Regions from separate parts of the Homo sapiens genome. Here region 1 is linked to region 2. The links are contacts of gene promoters, found by promoter capture Hi-C in blood cells and fetal thymus (Javierre and others, 2016). All regions are on one chromosome and are shown on one strand. The core of a region is centred on a gene start or on the middle of the fragment in contact, and the rest is flanking DNA. Distances in the headings are between cores, read along the strand shown. Region 1 holds the start of VAT1 (vesicle amine transport 1). Region 2 has its middle 73 kb from the start of LINC00910.

Region 1 (4,299 bases), core at 459-2,958, 290 kb after region 2:
CAAGGCTTGCTTGCGTGCAGGAGTTTGAGGCCATCCTGGGCAACATTAGCGAGACCCTCTCTCTAGAAAAAAAAATCAAAACTTAGCTAGGTTTGGCCACTCTAGGCACGCTGCCTATGGGGTAGCCCTGCTCTGCAAAGAGCAGTAAAACATAAAGTTAGCCGGGCGTGGTGACACATGCCTGTGGTCCCAGCTATTCAGGAGGCTGAGGTGGGAGGATTGCTTGAAGCCGGGAGTTTGAGGCTGTAGGGAGCTGTGATCGCCCCACCTCGCTCAGCCTGGGTGACAGAGTGAGACCCTGTATCAAAAAAATAAAAATATAAATATAACTAGAGCACGCAGCATCATCACTATGTTACAGAAGGGAAAATGAGGAACAGAACGTTAACACCAAAGTCAGAAAGTTTTAAAGGCTTGGTCTCCATGCTTCTACTTTGCCACTGCAAGACCACAGTGAATTAAGTCTCATCCCTGCCTGGGTTAGATGTCAGAGCCTGAGACACAATGTAGTTGGACTCCAGTCCACAGGTGGCTGACTCCAAATCTGATATGAGTTAACTCCAAATCTGATGTAAGTTCAAGTTTTGGGACTGTTCCTTAACTTTTTTTTTTTTTTTTTGAGACGGAGTCTCGCTCTGTAGCCCAGGCTGGAGTGCAGTGGCGCGATCTCGACTCACTGCAAGCTCTGCCTCCTGGGTTCATGCCATTCTCCTGCCTCAGCCTCCCAGGTAGCTGGGACTACAGGCGCCTGCCACCACGCCTGGCTAATTTTTTGTATTTTTTAGTAGAGACGGGGTTTCACCGTGTTAGCCAGGTGAATCTCCTGACCTCGTAATCTGCCCGCCTCGGCCTCCCAAAGTGCTGGGATTACAGGCGTGAGACACCGCGCCCGGCCTTTTTTTTTTTCGAGATGGAGTCTCCCTCTGTAGCCCAGGCTGGAGTGCAGCGGCATGATCTTGGCTAACTGCAACCTCCGCCTCCTGGGTTCAAGCAATTCTCCAGCCTCCGCCTCCCTAGTAGCTGGGACTATAGGCACCTGCCACCATGCCTGGCTAATTTTTGTAGTTTTAGTAGAGCTGGGGTTTCACCATACTGGTCAGGCTGGTCTCGAATTCCTGACCTCAGGTGATCCACCCACCCGCCTCGGCCTCCCAAAGTGTTGGGATTACAGGCGTGAGCCACGCCGCCCGGCCCTTTTTTTTTTTTTTTTTAACAGGGTCTCACTCTGTTGCCCAGACTGGAGTGTAGTGGCGCGATCTCGGCTCACCTCCGCCTCCCAGGCTCAAGCGATTCCTCTGCCTCAGCCTCCCAAGTAGCTGAGATTACAGGCGCGCGCCACTACCGCCCGGCTAACTTTTTTATTTTTAGTAAAGACGGGGGTTTCACCATGTTGGCCAGGCTGGTCTTGAACTCCTGACCTCAAATGATCCACCAGCCTCGGCCTCCCAAAGTGCTGGGATTACAGGCGTGAGCCACCGCGCCAGGCCTATCCCTTAAAATAGTTTTTAATTTGAATAAGGTTTACTATGAATAAATAAATCACAGTCGGCTTGATCCCAAGAGCACAGACGTTCCTGGTGCCCCTTTTCGTGCTCTCCCAGCTTGCGCCACTATGGCCCTGGCCCTTTAAGGCTGAGCGCGAGGCCCCGCCTCGCCCGGCGCCCCGCCCCTCCCGCTGGATCCCGCAGCCGCGGCTCTTCCCGACGCGTTCCGCCTTCCCCAGCTGTGCACTCTCCATCCAGCTGTGCGCTCTCGTCGGGAGTCCCAGCCATGTCCGACGAGAGAGAGGTAGCCGAGGCAGCGACCGGGGAAGACGCCTCTTCGCCGCCTCCGAAAACCGAGGCAGCGAGCGACCCCCAGCATCCCGCGGCCTCCGAAGGGGCCGCCGCCGCCGCCGCCTCGCCGCCACTGCTGCGCTGCCTAGTGCTCACCGGCTTTGGAGGCTACGACAAGGTGAAGCTGCAGAGCCGGCCGGCAGCGCCCCCGGCCCCTGGGCCCGGCCAGCTGACGCTGCGTCTGCGGGCCTGCGGGCTCAACTTCGCAGACCTCATGGCTAGGCAGGGGCTGTACGACCGTCTCCCGCCTCTGCCTGTCACTCCGGGCATGGAGGGCGCGGGTGTTGTGATCGCAGTGGGCGAGGGAGTCAGCGACCGCAAGGTGAGCGGGTTGCGTAGGGCAGGGCAGGGCTGCGCAGGCCACTGGGCAGTGGGGCACGAGTGGGCGAGCGCCGGGGGTGTGGCAGGGCGGGAGAAACTGGCGCGGACCTGGGTGCACGAGCGTGGAAAGCGTAGCCAAGGAACTTGTGTTTGGGGGCTCCTGGAGAGCGGCATTTATGTGGGGAGGGGAGACGAAATTATCGCCCCTTCCCCAACCATTTTTAGTTGTGGCCGCCGCCCAGAAGCTGTGCTGGTGGGGGGGAAAACAATAAGGTGCCCATGCGCATGCGCACAACCACACTACCGTCCCCACCCCCCCCCCCCCCCCCCATTAAAACCACACCTGTACCCCTACCCACCAAACACTCTCTGGGTAATTGTGGTCTGTGACTATGAGTGACGGTTAGTGCCCCCTTTCCCCGAGGGAGCTTGAGGGGCTATGTCGTCGGGGTTGGGCGGGGGCACAGCGGCCGTGCCAGAGTCCTGGTCACATGCAGCCCCGTGGTCTGTGGGGGTGTGAGGCGGCCCCTCCCAAAGCAAGGCCAAAGAGACGAGACACGCCCATCACGGAGGAGAGAGAGCCTTTGCTACCCCACCGCCACCAGCCTTACACCGCCGATCTGATTTTGGGGTGGGGGAGGCGGGATTGGGTCATCCGATCTTTGTCTTGGGCTCTGTGTCTCCCGTGACTGCAGTATCTCCTCCTCCTGTGACTCAGCCCTCAGCCTTCGGGCCACGACCCGGGGCTGCCCTTGGGAATGCCTGGGGCGGGGAGTGGAAGGGGGGACCCACCTCTGCCTTCCTCCTGCAGAGGACCCCCACTTCAGAAACCCCAGTGCCAGGGGTTTGGACTGGAACGGAGAGGTGCGGCGCCTTGAACTGGTTGGCCAAGTCTGCAGGCCTGTTTCTCCTTCTCATTTATCATTAATCTTGGCCACAACCCTGGACACCAGAGAGCTCAAAATGATCAGCTTTTTGAGAGACCTGGGATGAGGCCTCAGCACGCCATTTGTTTAGAGGTTTCTTTTTTTTTTCTTTTTCTTTTTTTTTTTTTTTTTTTTTAGACGGAGTTTCGCTCTTGTTGCCCAGGCTGGAGTGCAATGGCGCGATCTCGGCTCACCGCAACCTCTGCCTCCCGGGTTCAAGCGATTCTCCTGCCTCAGCCTCTCGAGTAGCTGGGATTACAGGCATGCGCCACCATGCCTGGCTAATTTTGTATTTTAGTAGAGATGGGTTTCTCCATGTCGGTCAGTCTGGTCTCGAACTCCCGACCTCAGGTGATCTGCCCACCTCGGCCTCCCTAAGTGCTGGGGTTACAGACATAAGCCACTGCGCTTGGCCAGGAGTTTCCTTTTTAAATCAGACCCCTCAATGAGAGGCCCCACAGATGCAGCCTCTTGCAGACCTGCCAGCCCAATTCTGGAGCCAGGTTTGTTGGATTCATCCTGTATGCAAACAGCTTCTCCTTAAGGCTTTCCTCTGAATTCAGCTCTGGCCCCACCCTCAAACTGACTTCTAAATGATCCCACTCTTGAGCAGGCGTCTAAGAGGAATATTTTCGGGAGGTAGTTGTAGTTCATGTTACTGCTGAAGGCCACCCACCTCACCTCCCCTCCATACACTTTCCGCCTGGTAAATACAGGATATCCTGTCCAGGGCAAGAATCTGATGTAAGAGCCTGGATTCTGCGGGGAGGGCCCTTCCCTCTCTCTCCCTCCTCCTCCTTCCTGGTGTCTGGGTTGGGGAGGGGTCATGGCCCTGATTTGGATGGCCTGAGGGTTAGCATGAGCCAGGGTAAGTGAGACTTGTTCTGGGTCAAATCTGGGACTGGCCATGACCCTAAATGACCAATGCACTCCTCGCAGCTCTCCTGGGTTGTTCTGTATCTGCTAGTCCTGAGTCCCTGGGTGGAGGGCTTCCGTTCTTGTTCTCCAGACCTCATCTCAGGCCAGAACTTGGAAGGAAAGACCCCAGCATGCCCTCAGTTCTCGTATTCAGTGGAGTGTGGGGGCTTGAGGACATGAAAAAGGGCGTAAGTGGCAGTCCCATCCCCCTTCCCCATGGACCCTAACTCTTGTTAATATACAGAATTCCCATCATTCCTGGCAGGGATCAAGACAGACCCAGATTGTCCCAGAACAGC
Region 2 (4,446 bases), core at 1,040-3,539:
AAAGGGGAGTTCCCTTGCACAAGTTCTCTCTCACCTTCCACCATGTAAGACATGCCTTTCACCTTCCACCATGATTGTGAGGCTTCCCCAGCCACGTGGAACTGTGAGTCCATTAAACCTCTTTTTCTTTATAAATTACCCAGTCTCCGGTATGTTTTTATTAGCAGCACGAGCACAGACTAATGCAGACTTATTGGGCCCCAGGTAGCAAATGTGGGATGTCTATTTTCCCCCAGCTTGCCCAGGGTTAAGGTGAGCCCAGTCAGCTTCCACCAGTTACACTCAGTGACACAGGTGCAGTTTGTTAGAGTTGGTGCAGTTAGATTAGTTGGAGGTGGGCCCAAGGACTTTGGGGATGCGGGTTGAGGGGGTGGGGAGTGGGGTGACAGGTACCAAAGGGTAGCAGAGGGAGGGATGGTAGAGGTGATTGGAGAGTGTGACCCTCGAAGTGGATGGGGTTATGGCAATCGACAATGACATGACCTAGGGTTAGACCAGGGAAGTGAGTGGCTGGGGTAGTCAAAGCTGAGGTCAAGGAATTGGGGAACCAGGGTGTCGATTGATGACAGGAGTTATGCTGGAGAAAGTCAGTGCTCCAGGAGCTAAAAACCTTCAAGGAATAAAGTAAGTGTTGGCATGGAGTGACCAGCAGCCAGGAGAGACAACAGCAACAAGGAGAGGTAGTGGGCAGCACAGGTGCAAGGCACAATGGAGTGAGAGGTGGGGAGAGCAAACAGAAAGAGGAAAGCAATGTCTTCAGCGGGAGGATAGAGCAAACGAAGAAAGGGGGGCCGGGCACAGTGGCTCACACCTGTAATCCCAGCACTTTGGGAGGCCAGTGCGGGTGGATCACCTGAGTTTGGCAGTTTGAGACCAGCCTGACCATCATGGAGAAACCCCATCTCTACTAAAAATACAAAAAAAATTTAGCCGGGCGTGGTGGCACATGCCTGTAATCCCAGCTACTCTGGAGGCTGAGGCAGGAGAATCGCTTGAACCCAGGAGGTGGAGGTTGCAGTGAGCCGAGATCGCACCATTGCACTCCAGCCTAGGCAACAAGAGTGAAACTCAGCCTCAAAAAAAAAAAAAAAAGAAGAAGAAGAAGAAGAAGAAGAAAGGAGGCTGGGAATAGGGAGGATGGTAGGAAAATTAGCAAGGTTTCAGGAATCAGACATGGGATAAGAGACCGGAGCTTCTTGTGACTGGCGGGCATAGGGCAGAAATGCAGAACTGTGGGATCGTTCTACAGTGAGTGGCAGATACCTGGAAGGCAGCTGCAGCCTTAGGTCTTGGCTCTCACTAATTGGGTGATGTCACCTCTGTCCAAGCAGTCGATCCCAGGAGCCTCCGAAGACCACCAGAGCAGTCCTTAGTGCCAGGTGAGTCTGCTAAAATAAAAACACAACGCTTTGCCGAGAAGCGGGGTAAAAAAAAGCTTTATCGCCGGCTGCAATCGAATTTCGGGGACAGGCCGGGTGCAGTAACTCAGGCCTGTAATCCCAGCACTTTGGGAGGCCCAAACGGGTGGATCACTTTGAGGCCAGGCGTTCGAGACCAACCTGGCCAACATGGCAAAACCCCGTCTCTACTAAAAATGCAAAAAATTAGCCAGTCATGGTGGGCACGTGCCTGTAATCCCAGCTACTCAGGAGGCTGAGGCACAAGAATCACCTGAACTTGGGAGGCAGAGGTTGCAGTAAGCCCAGATCTGGCCACTGCACTCCAGCCGGGGTTGGGGGTTGTGGGGGACAGAGTGAGACTATCTTAAAAAAAAAAAAAAAAAAAAAAAAAAAAAAAAGGAAGTGGAGACTAGCCACAGACCCAAAAGAAAACGAGCAAAAATGTAAAGCCTACTTTTGGCAATTGCTCATGTGGAGAGGAATGAATGCAGTGTTCTTGAAATTATTGAAATATTAGATCCGGAAGCTGAAGTGGGAGAACCATCTGAGTCCAGGAAGTCGAGATCATAGTGAACTCTCATCCCGCCACTGCACTCCAGCCTGGATGACAAAAGTGACACTCTATAAGACAAAAAAAAAAAAAAAAAAAGGCGGGGAGGGGGCTGGTCACACATACTCTCACCTAGACAAGGATATTGACGACCAATTCTGAAGCATGATATAACGCAATAAGAACGTGAATATAACAAAGTATAACCTTTAAAACACAACGCTCACTCACCTAAAAAATCGTTCACCTTTGTTTGAAGTACTACAACCTCCCAACCCCACCGTTTTCTCCAAAAACCCCCTCAACACAGCATTCTCAGAAACAAAAAGAAAGAACGCACACACTAAGCTAGGAAAAACACACATAATTACACCTCACCACAAACAGAGATCTGGAAAAATTTGTCGAATCCAGCATCTTTGCCTTCGCCATTACCACCCTCATATCACCATATTACACCCACGGTGAGCAACGATAGGGGCAATTGACAACTTCGTTTCTCAATAGGCCTGTTGAAAACAGCAAGCCTTTGGGCATGGTTTATAGTTGGCTACGTTTTCAAGTGAATTCTCAGCTCTGTTTTTGCCCCGTGGCTGAAGCGCCATTTCTAATTTGCATGTCTCGCCCTTTCCCGCGTGGGTAGGCGTGGCTACGGCGATCTGAGTCCCCGCTGCGGTCCAGCTCTGCTCGCAGCGGCCGGCCGAAGCTGGGCTGGGGCTCCCGGTCTGGACCATCCGGGGGTCAAGACAGTGGTCAGGGGGAAATGCGCGTGGGCGTCACTAGCGGTCTGTGGAAGGGAGTTGGAGGAGAGTGGTCCGAGCTCTTTTGAGGAAAGCCATCAGGTCATCACTGTAAAGACTGGAGCGTCCCGCGGCCTGGCTGGGTCCCAAGCGAAGGCGGAGCCGACGAGGCCCCGCCGCCCCCCACCCCCTTCCCGGGGCCACAGAGAGAAGTCGGGTCGCGAGACCGCGCCGAGGGGGCTGCCGCCCTGGGAGTCACAGCCCCGTCCGCGCGCCTTGCCCTGTCGGCGGGGCACTGGGGGCAAACCACTTAACCTCCGGACTCTGTTTCCCCAGCTGGAAAGCAGAAACACCAATGCCTACCTCGTGGGGTGGAGGGAGCAGAAACGGAGCCGAGGAAGGGACCGTGGCTCGGTAGTCTGCAATGTGAGTCAGAGTTTCCCACAAGCTTCCCCAGAAGGGGTCATGACTGTGAAATGACTGAGACAATAAAATAGGAAGCATTTACTGTTTGGCTTAGGCTCTGTGTTAAGTGCTCTCCTCATTACAAACTTGCAAAAGTTACATACAGATGCAGAAGCTGAGGCAGAGAGGTTAAGCAGCTTGCCCAAGACCACAGGGAGGTAGGATTTGAACCTAGGTGCACTGGCCACAGCATCTTCCCCATCACTCCATCCACCTGTGAAGCAGAGAGCCTAGAGCCAAAAATGGATACCTAGAGAAAGATAATTTGTTCTTGTGTGTCCAGCACTCTGTGAGACAAAGCACTGAGCCTGAGACACAAGTCTTCTGTCTGCAGAGAGGCAAGAACCAAGCTGTCTGCTGCAGCAGTTGAGAAGAGCCTCGGCCCTGGCACTGTGGCTCATGCCTGTAATCCCAACACTTTGGGAGGCCGAAATGGGAGGATCACTTGAGCCCAGGAGTTCGAGACCAGCCTTGACAACAAAGTGAGAGCCCCATCTCTACAAAAAAAAAAAAAAAAAAAAAACCAGAAAATCTACCGGGCGTGGTGGAGCAGGCTTGTAGTCCCAGTGACTGGGGAGACTGAGCTTGGGGGACTACTTGAGCCCTGGGAGGACCACTTGAGCCCTGGGAAAACAGCTTGAGCCCCAGGAGGCCAAAGTGGCAATGAGCTGTGATCAGGCCACTGCACTCCACTCCAACCTGGGGGACCGACTGAGACCCTATCTCAAAAAAAAAAAAAAAAAAAAAAAAAACAAATAGCCAGGCAGGGTGGCTCACACCTGTAATCCCAGTACTTTGGGAGGCCTAGGCGGGCAGATCATCTGAGGTCAGGAGTTCGAGACTGGCCTGGCCAACATGGTGAAACCTCCTCTCTACCAAAAATACAAAAAATTAGCCAGGCGTGGTGGTGGGCACCTGTAATCCCAGCTACTTGGGGGGCTGAGGTGGGAGAATCGCTTGAACCCAGAGGCGGAGGCTGTAGTCAGCCACAATGGCACCATTGCACTCCAGCCTGGGAGACAGAGCAAGACTCCGTCTCAAAAAAAAAAAAAAAAAAAAAAAAGTCGGGCATGGTTGGTGGGTGCCTGTAATCCCAGCTAATCGGGAGGCTGAAGCAGGAGAATTGCTTGAGCCTGGGAGGTGGAGATTGCAATGAGCCAAGACCATGCCACCCACTGCACTCCAGCCTGGGCAACTGAGCGAGACGCCGTATCAAAAAAAAAAAAAAAAAAAAAAAAAAGCAAGGGAAAACAGCTTAGGCAAGTCACTCCTCTGAGGCTTATTTTTTTTC

The links. The method cuts DNA at HindIII sites, captures the fragments that hold promoters and counts their contacts. A CHiCAGO score of 5 or more calls a contact.
Region 1: a contact is called between the fragment with the promoter of VAT1 here and a fragment that was not itself captured in region 2, in 1 of 17 cell types (endothelial precursors). The highest score is 5.0, in endothelial precursors.

The regions. Positions count from the first base shown.
Region 1 is chr17:43,019,794-43,024,092 of GRCh38, reverse strand. VAT1 (vesicle amine transport 1) reads left to right here and starts at 1,708. Exons shown (of 6, transcript NM_006373.4): 1 at 1,708-2,157. The coding sequence starts at 1,771. The HindIII fragment of the contact is 11,344 bases long and covers 1-4,299 here.
Region 2 is chr17:43,313,826-43,318,271 of GRCh38, reverse strand. No RefSeq gene overlaps it. Among named protein-coding and RNA genes, the nearest start is that of LINC00910, 73 kb to the left of the region's middle. RefSeq lists enhancers at 1,597-2,229, 2,230-2,867. The HindIII fragment of the contact is 1,703 bases long and covers 1,438-3,140 here.